3 separate regions of the Homo sapiens genome follow, and regions 1 and 2 are each linked to region 3. The links are contacts of gene promoters, found by promoter capture Hi-C in blood cells and fetal thymus (Javierre and others, 2016). All regions are on one chromosome and are shown on one strand. The core of a region is centred on a gene start or on the middle of the fragment in contact, and the rest is flanking DNA. Distances in the headings are between cores, read along the strand shown.

What was found. Contacts are between HindIII fragments. The CHiCAGO score rates a contact against its expected background, and 5 or more counts as called.
Region 1: a fragment that was not itself captured here is called in contact with the fragment with the promoter of WDR49 in region 3 in 2 of 17 cell types (monocytes and M2 macrophages); the score reaches 6.9 in monocytes.
Region 2: a contact is called between a fragment that was not itself captured here and the fragment with the promoter of WDR49 in region 3, in 1 of 17 cell types (monocytes). The highest score is 5.6, in monocytes.

What each region holds. Positions count from the first base shown.
Region 1 is chr3:167,507,885-167,511,372 of GRCh38, reverse strand. All of the region lies in intron 16 of WDR49 (WD repeat domain 49), which reads left to right. Among named protein-coding and RNA genes, the nearest start is that of SERPINI2, 36 kb to the right of the region's middle. The HindIII fragment of the contact is 7,574 bases long and covers 1-3,488 here.
Region 2 is chr3:167,488,471-167,492,014 of GRCh38, reverse strand. All of the region lies in intron 18 of WDR49 (WD repeat domain 49), which reads left to right. Among named protein-coding and RNA genes, the nearest start is that of SERPINI2, 16 kb to the right of the region's middle. The HindIII fragment of the contact is 565 bases long and covers 1,397-1,961 here.
Region 3 is chr3:167,651,761-167,655,251 of GRCh38, reverse strand. It overlaps WDR49 (WD repeat domain 49), which reads left to right and starts at 1,310. Exons shown (of 19, transcript NM_001366157.1): 1 at 1,310-1,418; 2 at 1,753-1,991. The coding sequence starts at 1,827. RefSeq lists enhancers at 1,050-1,572, 1,573-2,096. The HindIII fragment of the contact is 616 bases long and covers 903-1,518 here.

The sequences.
Region 1 (3,488 bases), core at 550-3,049, 140 kb after region 3:
AGCATTTTGTAAAATGAAAAAATAACGCATCAAAAAGTACTTGTGATCTTTAAAATTTCTGTCTTAATCTAATTCAGATGAGACTGGATTGATATAATTTTAAGACTTTGTAATAATGAGATAGTATAGAAAAATGTCATTTAGGAATTAAACTAATAAAAAAAGGGTTAAAAACATATCCTCAGAATTGATTATCATGTACATCCTTCAGTTCTCCCAGGAATATGATCAGGAATCCTTTGCAGAAATTATACAAACACAATAAAATTGTCAGCTGTAGAATGTCCTTTGTGCTTTCCATCTAGTACGGAAAATATTATAAATCATTTTATTTTTAAGAAATATTCTTCCGAAGAATGTGCCCCTTTACCTAGTCAGATTGGTAAATTCAAGGAAAGAATCATGCTAGCTCTCATCCATATGAAAAAATATGAAAGAAAAATAAAAATGTGAAAGAATTTAGACTACAGGAGAAAAAGTACACTTGGTGTATATATGCAGGTGGGGGTATGTTTAGATGGGGGTTGGTGCACAGGAAGAAAGATGAAGGAAAATAGAAAAAGTCTAAAGAAAATAGAAGAAACAAGAAACATGAAGAAAAAATTAAGTGTCTTAAAGCTATTTTCTCATTTTAACACCTAAGAGTCTCTTTCCAGGTTAAAAAATTGGGGTGTATATTATCTTCTGGCTTATACAAACATACCTGGCTTTTCACAGGGCTGAAAGTATTTTATAATACTATTTGTGAGAAGTAGGTAGATGGTAAAGAGTTATCTTCAAGTTAAGTCCTGGGGAGATGAATATAGAATTTAAGAGATTAATAGAAAGGCCTAATTCTAAGTTAACAATTGATATGGAGAAATAGATTTATCCTTTTCCTAGAGTCTGCAAAACTCATACTAGCTTTAAAAAACTTCTAAAAAAATAAATAAGTGAAGGGATAAAATAGTAAAAAAAACTACAGTGGACATATATTTTTCCTAGTTTATAGGAATATTTGTTTTTTGGACTCATGTAAAATTATCTAACCTAGGAAAATTATAGATAAAATGAATAATTCAGAAAATACAGTTTCAGAATATTTCCTTATTATAAAATTAATACAGGGATTACAGGCATATGCCACCATGCCCAGCTCATTTTTGTATTTTTAGTAGAGACGGGGTTTCATCATGTTGGCCAGGCTGGTCTTGAACTCCTGACCTCGTGATCTGCCCGCCTCGGCCTCCCAAAGTGCTGGGATTATAGGCATGAGCCGCTGTGCCTGGCCAAAAATACTACATTTTTATTACGGGAAAATTTGGAAGTACAAATAAGCAAAAGGTGAAAATATCTGTGGTAAAGCCATTGTTAACATTAGGCATTTCACTTTTAAGACCTTGCTTTAGGCATACTTACAACAATGAAAAAATGTACATTTTATAAAAATAACTGTGACTTAGTAGACACAGTTTATAACCTGTTTTATCGCTCAAAAATATGCAGTAGGCACATTTTCATATTAGTTAATATGAGTATCCATGGACAACAACATTTATAATGACTTGTAGCTTTTTAACCATTTTCTTTATTTCAAATATGTAGACTGTTTACAAATTTTAACTGGGAAAACAGTTCTTTAAATACCTTCATGTGCACATATTAGAATATCTTATTGAATTCATAATTAGAATACATTCTTTGAGAGGAATTGCTGAGTCAAAAGGCATAAAGGCCTTTGGGTCATCTTGCTAAAGGTCATCTTGCTGTCTGGACATATCAGCTCTCCCTCCAGCAGCAATACAAATGGTTGCTTTCCTGCCTTCGAACCAAAAATGGTTGTTATTGCTGTCTTAAAACTGTCGCTATGATATCTTATTGCTTTAAACTAAAGTTTTTGATTATTTGTGAAAGTAAACATTTTTCAGGTTTATTAACCTTTGATAATTCAATAATAAATTTTAAAGGGGTATTCAAAGTCTACTAGACTAACTCCTATGGCATCTTTAAGAGAAACACATCCCAGCCTTTTTGAATAGTTCCTATATGACACACTCACATCTCACAGATACCCTTCTCTATTATTGAACTATTCTTAATGTCTCTAATGTTAAGTAAAATCCATCTGTAGAACTCTCACTTACTGATCTTCATTCTTATTCTAGAGCAACAAAGAGCATAAACTACTCCATTTTTTATTATCTGACACATTTTCCTTTGGTTACCATTTAAAAAATTGCTTATCTGGAAGGGATTCATTATTAGAAACAAGTATAAAGACTCAGATGAGAAATGAAACAAAAATTCTACTAGTTTCCCAGTAAGTTTATACAAGGCAGAGGGCACACCTCAAATTAATGTTTCTTAAACATGGAAAATAATTATGATGTTTTAAATTCCATGTTATTGTTAGGAGGGAACTGATATTTAATATTATTTAAATGCTATTGATTACCTAATTATTCTGTCAGTAGATTTCATGTGAGAAATTAAATTAGAAAATAGATAAATAGCTATAAGAAAAAATACACAAAATATTAAAATCCCATTTTAAATTAGGCTTTATGTGATGTAAATACTTGACGAATTGGCAGTCTACTTTCACCAACAATCTGGCAATAACTATCCTATGTCCATGTATGACAAATGAAAGCATATGATACTCTATTCAATTTTTGAAATTTGAACTTTAAAAATACTAGAACAGCAAATTGTTATTTGGGGGAGTGCCACATCTTTTTATTTTTTGTCTGATCATTCTGATAGTTCTGAAGAATATTGGAGCTTGCTGTAGGGGGGTGTTAGAACTCCCTGCTTTGAGTGAAAAATATTGTCTTGCTTTTGCTTAAAGTGATAGTAGCCAATACCAACTGAGCCCTGATTATATTTCAGGGCCTGTTCTAAGGTCTTTATGTGTTTACCTCATTTAATTCTCACTGTAATCCTAGAAGATAGCTACTATTGTCATCCCCATTTCACAACTTGAAAAACAGAGGCGGAGAAGTTAACAGATTTGCACAAGGTCAACCAACCAAGAGGTGAACTAGGGATACAAATGCAGGCATTCAGCCTCCAGAGTTAGTACTTTATCAGTGTTCTGTGTTGCCTGTCCAACAAGCATCATGTGAAAATATTGACAAATTATTGGTTTCTGAGTCAAGCCATCAAATATTTTATCAAGTACCTGCTATGTATAAGCCACTACTCTAAGCATTTTTCACTTCCTTTTTGATGCCTAGGAGGGTACTTGAGTAATTGTCACAGTCATTATACCTCCCTTCCACAGCCAGAGCCAAGAGAAGTGAGATTAGTTAGAGCCTTTCCTCCTCATAGGATTGATGCCAAAGCTGGTGGATCCCATAGTAGATCGCCTTCCTGCATCACCTACTAAGGCATTTTTGCAAAATGTTTTAAAACTCTATTTAAGCCTGGTATTACATTATTCTGCTTCTTTGTCTTCATCCATCACTTCTCCTCTTGAGAATATTTGCCTTTTTCCAGTTCCCTGT
Region 2 (3,544 bases), core at 430-2,929, 160 kb after region 3:
TGAGAGGCATTTTGCTAGTCTCACTTTCAATGTCCTAAACTCTCACTTTGGAACTTGGGACAGTTTTCAAACACTTTAAAATCCCCAGGTGATGTTTTAGCCATACCTGCTGGGTTTTTTATGTCCTTTTGTATTCTGTTTCTTTCCCTTTCAACTTGAAACATCTTTCTTCACACTTTCCCTTTAGCTTTCAAGTTGCTCCCAGTTGGTTCTTAAACAGCTTGAAACCCCTCTTTGATATGCCTTATTCAAAATCCTGGAAGCTACTTAGAACTGCCTCTGAGTCAGGTTTTGCCAATAAATTCCCCAGAACCCATTCACATTGTATCTGTAAAATCTTTAAAACTTGAAACAGTGTGGAGAAAATGCTCTATTAATGATACCTCAGGTGACTTGTTTTGTTGTAGCTGTTGCTCTGTGAAAGACAAAATGTACGAAACAATTAAAGAGATGGTTTTATTCAGCCTACTGCAATACGGAGAAAGTTCATTAAACAGGAACATCTCAAAGAAAAGAAAAGAGGTCTGAGCTTTTGTAGAGGTAGGTAGATGAGGAAGTCATCTGTGATTCTTATAGGACTCAAGAGGAAGGAAAGAGAGGGTCCTGGAATATATGAGAGGAGAGGAGTCCTTTGTGGTTAGCTGTTTCTAGAACATGAAAATGTAGAGAGATTTCTTAAATGTCTTCACTTTCCAGGAGCACTGGACTGAGGTAAAGTTCAGCATCGCCAGTCTCATCCCCCTTGTGTTTAAGAAAAATGAATATCACTCATTGCTGAACAACCTAAAAGTGATTCTAAAGCTCCCGGGTGGGGCAAAGCAGAGTCTCAGAAATAGTCTCTCAGGGGTTCTTGTTGATGTTGCTCCTACAAAACCACTTGAATTTATATTGCCAGGTGGTGGCAAAGGTCAGCTGTTTTGAAGTCCCAACGATCCTGGGAGAAAGGGACAGCTGCAAGGCAACCAAAAGTCTGTATAGGGATCTGGGATGTCAGGTTTTAATTCTTGGTAATGTCCTTAGGTGGGAGGGAGAAAAACTGAAAATGTTAATTTGGAAAGTTGTAGTTAAATGTTGAAAAAAAACACATAAGATTGAAAAGTTTGGAGAGTTGACAATTTGTGCAAGGTAGCAGACCAGTCCAATTTGCAAGTAGATCCCGAAAGTGGTGTTTCCAAGGAGAAGAGGAAGTCAAATCTCTAGCAGATAAAACAAAGTTTGCATATCCGTCAGTGGCTTGCAATTGAAAAGAGGGGCAAAAATAGTTCAAAAACAGTGAACTCAACTAGAATCTAACAACCCAGAAGGGTGTGCTGGAGACAATACATAGTGTTTTATTGAAACACACAATGTTTCACATTAGCCCTTAAGCTACAGGTCAAAAATATACACATAAGCTTTTATTAAAATCTTTGTTTTAGAGTATAATTTTAAATCTAGCACCGGTAAAGAAAAATAATCTTTGATATCATATAAAAGTTCTTACTTGAACAAATAATTAAAATGTAGGAAGAAAGCATTTGTAGATACATGCATTGACTATATGATAAATGAGAGATTGCTACACATGGCTCACCTCAGGACCTTTTGGATACTAAACATCCAGAATGAACAGAAAACTCAGGGGCATTTTAAAAAGTAGAAATCCTTCCTATTGCTCTACATTTTTATTTACATAACACTAAATTATCTCAAAATTCACAAATACAACACACACAGACCAAAATTTTGGGTCTATAAAACAGAAGTCATTAATATGTGAACAACATATTTAAAAGGTTCAACAGGTCCCAAGCAACCATTATTTGAGAGTCATATGAAAACTATTAAAGTATTTTGATTAATCATCACCACTCTTTCTCACCAACCCGTTGCTTTGTTGCCTGTTTGTTACTGGATGGTGGCTGAAATAAAAGGACATTTGACAATACTCACCTAGAGCTTAGATTTAGAAATCAGAAGCTTGACCTCAAGATGTGGGCAGTGGATAGCAGCATGGGCATCACCAGGGAGCTCCTTAGAAATGCAGCATCTCAGGACCCACCCCAGATCTGTTGCATGGGAATTTGTATTTTAATGAGAACTCCAGGTGATTCTTATGCACATATAAGTTTGATAAATAAGAATTTGTCTAGAAGACGCAAAATAGGACACAGAATAGGAGGAAGAATGTGAATTAGAAAGGAGTTTTCAGAATGCTGTACACTCATAGACAGGTAGTCATTGCATAGTACATTACATAGCTGCCAAGTCCTTTGTTGCCAGGGTATCTTTGTGAGTTTTGCCACTGTTGTTCAGCTGATATAGTTAGTTGCCAATTAGCAGGCAAGGGAAAGACCAGAAGACAATATATAAACCAATTCTTCTATGTTAAGATCCTTGAATCATTTTATTATAGAAAAAATGTTTTGGATACTTTCCTGACCACCACATCTTTCCTTTTCATCACTGTGAAAACAGCTTTTGGCTATCATTATAATAAACCTTGTCAGGCAGCCAACTATAAAGTGAAGTGATGAGTGTATAAATGTCATATTTTCCCAGGTAGGGAATAGTGAATGTAAGTGGTTACTGATAACACTAGATGTTAATTTTTAAGAACTTGGTTGTGGTTAAATGGATGTATATGTATATATGTGACATGGAGAATCACCCTTTTATGAATATTATAGGGTCCCCAGGTCTCTGGAATGCAGGGATTCCAAAGGGTGAGGAGTGAGCCAACCCCTTTGCATGCCTGAAAGTTCCTTCATTCATGTGCTCATATATTCAACAAATATACATTTTGAGTCCCTTTTCCATGAGCCAGATACAATGCTGGGTGCTAGGGATATATGGTATACAAAGGCAAACAAAGTCTACTGCTGCTGAATTTATTGTCTAGGAAGAGAGATAGGTAATAATAAGTAGATAAATAGTTAAAGATGATAAGTTTGGAGAATGATATTGATAAGAGCTAAGAAGAAAATACAACAAGATAATATAATAAGGTGACATTAGGAAGAACATCAGTGAAGGTCTCTCTGACATTTAAGCTAAATCCTAAGGTAGAAAGTTCTACAAAGATGTTGGGGCAGAATGTCCCAAGCACAGGAAACAAGTATAAAACCACTGGGAACAAAATTGACATGTTCCAGGGACAGAAAAGAGGTCACCATTGCTAGAATGGAGTGAGGAGACTGGTATCAGATGAGATTAGAGGGGGCTCAGGGGTCATGTCATGTGGGACCATGTTGCCTGGGCAAAAAATTTGGTTTAAGTATAAAGGGAAGCCTTCAGAGGATTTAAAGAGGAATGTGACCTGATTCATCTAGACACTGGCTGTTTCTCACTAATCTGAGCAAACTACTGTCCAGGATTCTAAATAAGTTATGTGGCCAGGGAGGCAAGAAGTTGGAGGCTTGAGGTTCCTAAGCTTGTGATCATATGGGAACTTGAGGGTGCTTTAAGATAAGCTTTGTATTTATTTATTTACTTTATTTTTTACTTTTTAAAAATTTCAGCTTTTATTTTAGATACAGGGAACACATGTGCAGGTTTGGTAAAT
Region 3 (3,491 bases), core at 61-2,560:
GGCGGTTTCCCCATACTGTTCTCCTGGTAGTGAATAAGTCTCATGAGATCTGATGGTTTTATAAATGGGAGTTACCCTGCACATGCTGTCTTGCCTACTGCCATGTAAGTCATGACTTTGCCCTCATTAGCTTTCTGTCATGATTTTGAGGCCTCCCCAGCCATGTGAAATTATGAGTCAATTAAACCTCTTTCCTTTATAAATTACCCAGTCTCAGGTATGTCTTCATTAGCAGTGTGAAAACAGACTAATACATGCAGTATCTGAAGTTTGGGAGCCATTCTGTTCTCTTCCGTATGTTACTATTTGTGTGACCTTTGGCATTTTCTTTGCTTTTTTTTTTTTTCTTTTTTGAGACAGGGTCTCATTCTGTTGCCCAGGCTGGAGTGCAGTGGCACAATCTTGGCTCACTGCAACCTCTGCCCCCCAGGTTCAAGGGATCCTTCTAACTCAGCCTCCCGAGTAGCTGGGATCACAGGTGTGCGCCACCATGCTCGGCTGATTATTTTTGTATTTTTACTAGATACAATGTCTCGTCATGTTGCCCAGGCTGCTCTCGAACTCCTGAGCTGAAGCCATCCACCTGCCTCAGCCTCCCAAAGTGCAGGGATTACAGGCGTGAGCCACCTTGCCCGGCTTTTTGCTTCTTTATCAGTAAAATGGGGATAATGATCACATCTGCCTTGTAGGATTGTTGTGAAGCTTAAACAAGACAATGAACATAAAGTTTTAGTGCCTGGCACATGGTTAATACTCAAAAAATGTTAATTTTTCTTCTTTTTCTCCTCCTTTTCATTATTATTAGCTGAACCAGTAATGACACTGCAAGCAATTTTATCATTAGATTTATCATATTATGTTATGCTGTGTTTTTTTATCACATTTTCAACAAGTTGGAAGCTTTTTTGAACCATCTCTATTTTATATACATAGAAACTAAGACAAAAAGAATATAAGAAACAGATTCCTTTTATATAAAAATAAAACATTTTCTGTGTATAAAACATAAAATTCCAGAATTTCATGCTTTTCTCTTTGACTAATCATATAGTTTCATAATATATATCCTATATAATGGTAAAAGTTGTCTTTAAATAATACAAGATGTCGTTTAATAAAAAATGAGTGGAATGAACTGTCCTTTTATTTCAAAAAAAACCATTTCAACATTTACATTATATATTTAAACTTTCAGTTGGAGAGGGGGAAGTGAAAGGGAAAGTTTTAGTTGGCTTTGTGTTGGTTGCCAGGAAACATACAAAAGGATCAGAACAGATGAAACAAACAACTCCACATTGCTGGGAAGGTGGCATTCAGAGTCAAGTACTTCATTGGTAGGGAAACTCTGCAGCTTTGTCATCTAACTCTTCCAGACAAGAAAGTGGAATTGAAAACTACAACATGTTAATGGAAGCAAGGTTAGTTAAAGAGATTTTTGGGAAGGTGCTTTTCTAATGCATTTAAAATGAGGATTGGAAGTTGTTTTCTGTGTCAGTTACTATAAATGTGGGGAAAGCTTTACACATTTTTAATCAAGCCAGGTTAAACAGAGTATAAGGAAGGGGTAAAAATACCATTTTAAAAGCATTCAACTGTAAATTTTGAAAATAAACTCTAGAATCAAATAAGTGAGAGGGTTGAGGGCTTTCATTTCCTACCTCAGCTTGAACATTTTGCCTCCTGATCGTATGCCTTGAAAGGTTTGTACTTTCATTTTGGAATTCTGTTGCTAAGTTGAGTTTCTTTTCAAAGGCACCTGTTGAAGGAAAAAGAAGATCCATCCTTATAGAAATAGTTGAAGGCAACTGAGAAAAGGTGAAGCCATTATGAGTTGCCAGAAAGCTGTACTTGAGTTAAACATAGGGTCACAGCTTGGGCCAAAGAGTCCTGAGAGAACAGAAGGTGTAACTGCATTTGAAGACTATGGCACAGGCCTGCTTGAAAACCAACTCAGCGTGGGTGACTTTGTAAAAATACAGAAGGCCTTTGAGGTAAGTGTGAAGCTTATTGACCAGATAGTTTGAGTTGTTCATGAAGGAGCCTAGAATGAAACACAGAGATATTTTTCTTTAAGCATTAAAAAAATACACTTAATTGTTATAGCAGAGAATTAAAAATAATTGGTTAGGCCTGGATTTAACACAATGTGCTTGGTAGCTTTGCCCCTCAGTTCTTTGGGCCAAATAATATTCTTTAGTTTGAAATTGCTTCACTGAATTTCATTACTATCAAGAAAGAACTATTTATTGTTGGAAAAAATTTTTTTCTTAGAGATCAACATATTTTGGGGAAACAAAAAATTATGGCTGTGAGTGAAGAAAGCCAGATCTCTAAGGTGACCTCCAGGAATAATTGTTCTTGCATTTAATACGGACATAGAACTCAGCAAATGCAAATATGCATACCCAGTTTGCAAAAAATTTCCTCCTGTCTCACTCACCCTAAGTGGCACAGCTCCTTTTCTAAGCTGATTCTGGCACTTTGTTGTCCCAAGATCCCTTATGAGGGACGAGTCTCCCACTCATTTTGTAAATCCTGGAACAATGCCAATAAAAACAAAATTAGAATTTTTCATTTTAACTCTGCATAAAAAATAAACCATAGGAATTTAACTGTAAATGAATAATTTTCTTCTCTCTTAGTCAATGAATTTTGAATTCTGCAGCTATGCATAATGAACAGCATACATCAAAGTGGTTTTTAGTTTCAAATATGGGTAGAAAGAAGTGCTCTTCCATGACGTAGAATTTAGGTAGTCATGAGCCTCCAACATTTCTACTATATTATGTTTACTAAAGTATGATCTAGGGCCTTCTTAAGATTGTCCGTGGGTGCTTGGAGTATCCATACTAATTTGAAATAGAAAATATTTTGGAATACCACCTGGAAATTAATAAAATATAATAAAAGCTCACAATATATTAGCCTGTAATAGGCACACATTTTTATCTTTGGATATCCACAAAAGAATATAACAAGTTGGGTTCCACCTGTATTGATAAATTAATGTCCCAATAGTATCAATCATTTCTTTATAATAGAACTTATCATATTTAGTAGCAAGACATGCTCTGTCCTACACTTTTCTCATTTCAACCTTCATATATTTGCTATTCAACCAACCTCATTTGTCTGAAAGATTTCACTGCTGCTGCTCATGCCCAGTGCCCCAAGTAAATTTAGCATATTTTGATAGACATAGCAAACATTTTGACAGCTTGAGGACATTCAGTAAAACATAACAGCAGATTATGACAGCTTTGACTCTATAGTGAACAGAAATGTGGCAGTTTTGTTCCGGTGCTAAGAACACAAAGAATTTGAATGCTAGGGCCTATTAGGAGAGTCTACATTATAAAGTTGATGTGTTGGTGAAACTGCTTCAGAAGGTTAGAGGTGGGTGTTCTTTCCAAACTGCAGATTAGTCTTGAATGAACCCAAGTGAAACTGGAAAATTCAACCTCAAGTTTTAATTTATTTCTATTTTATGT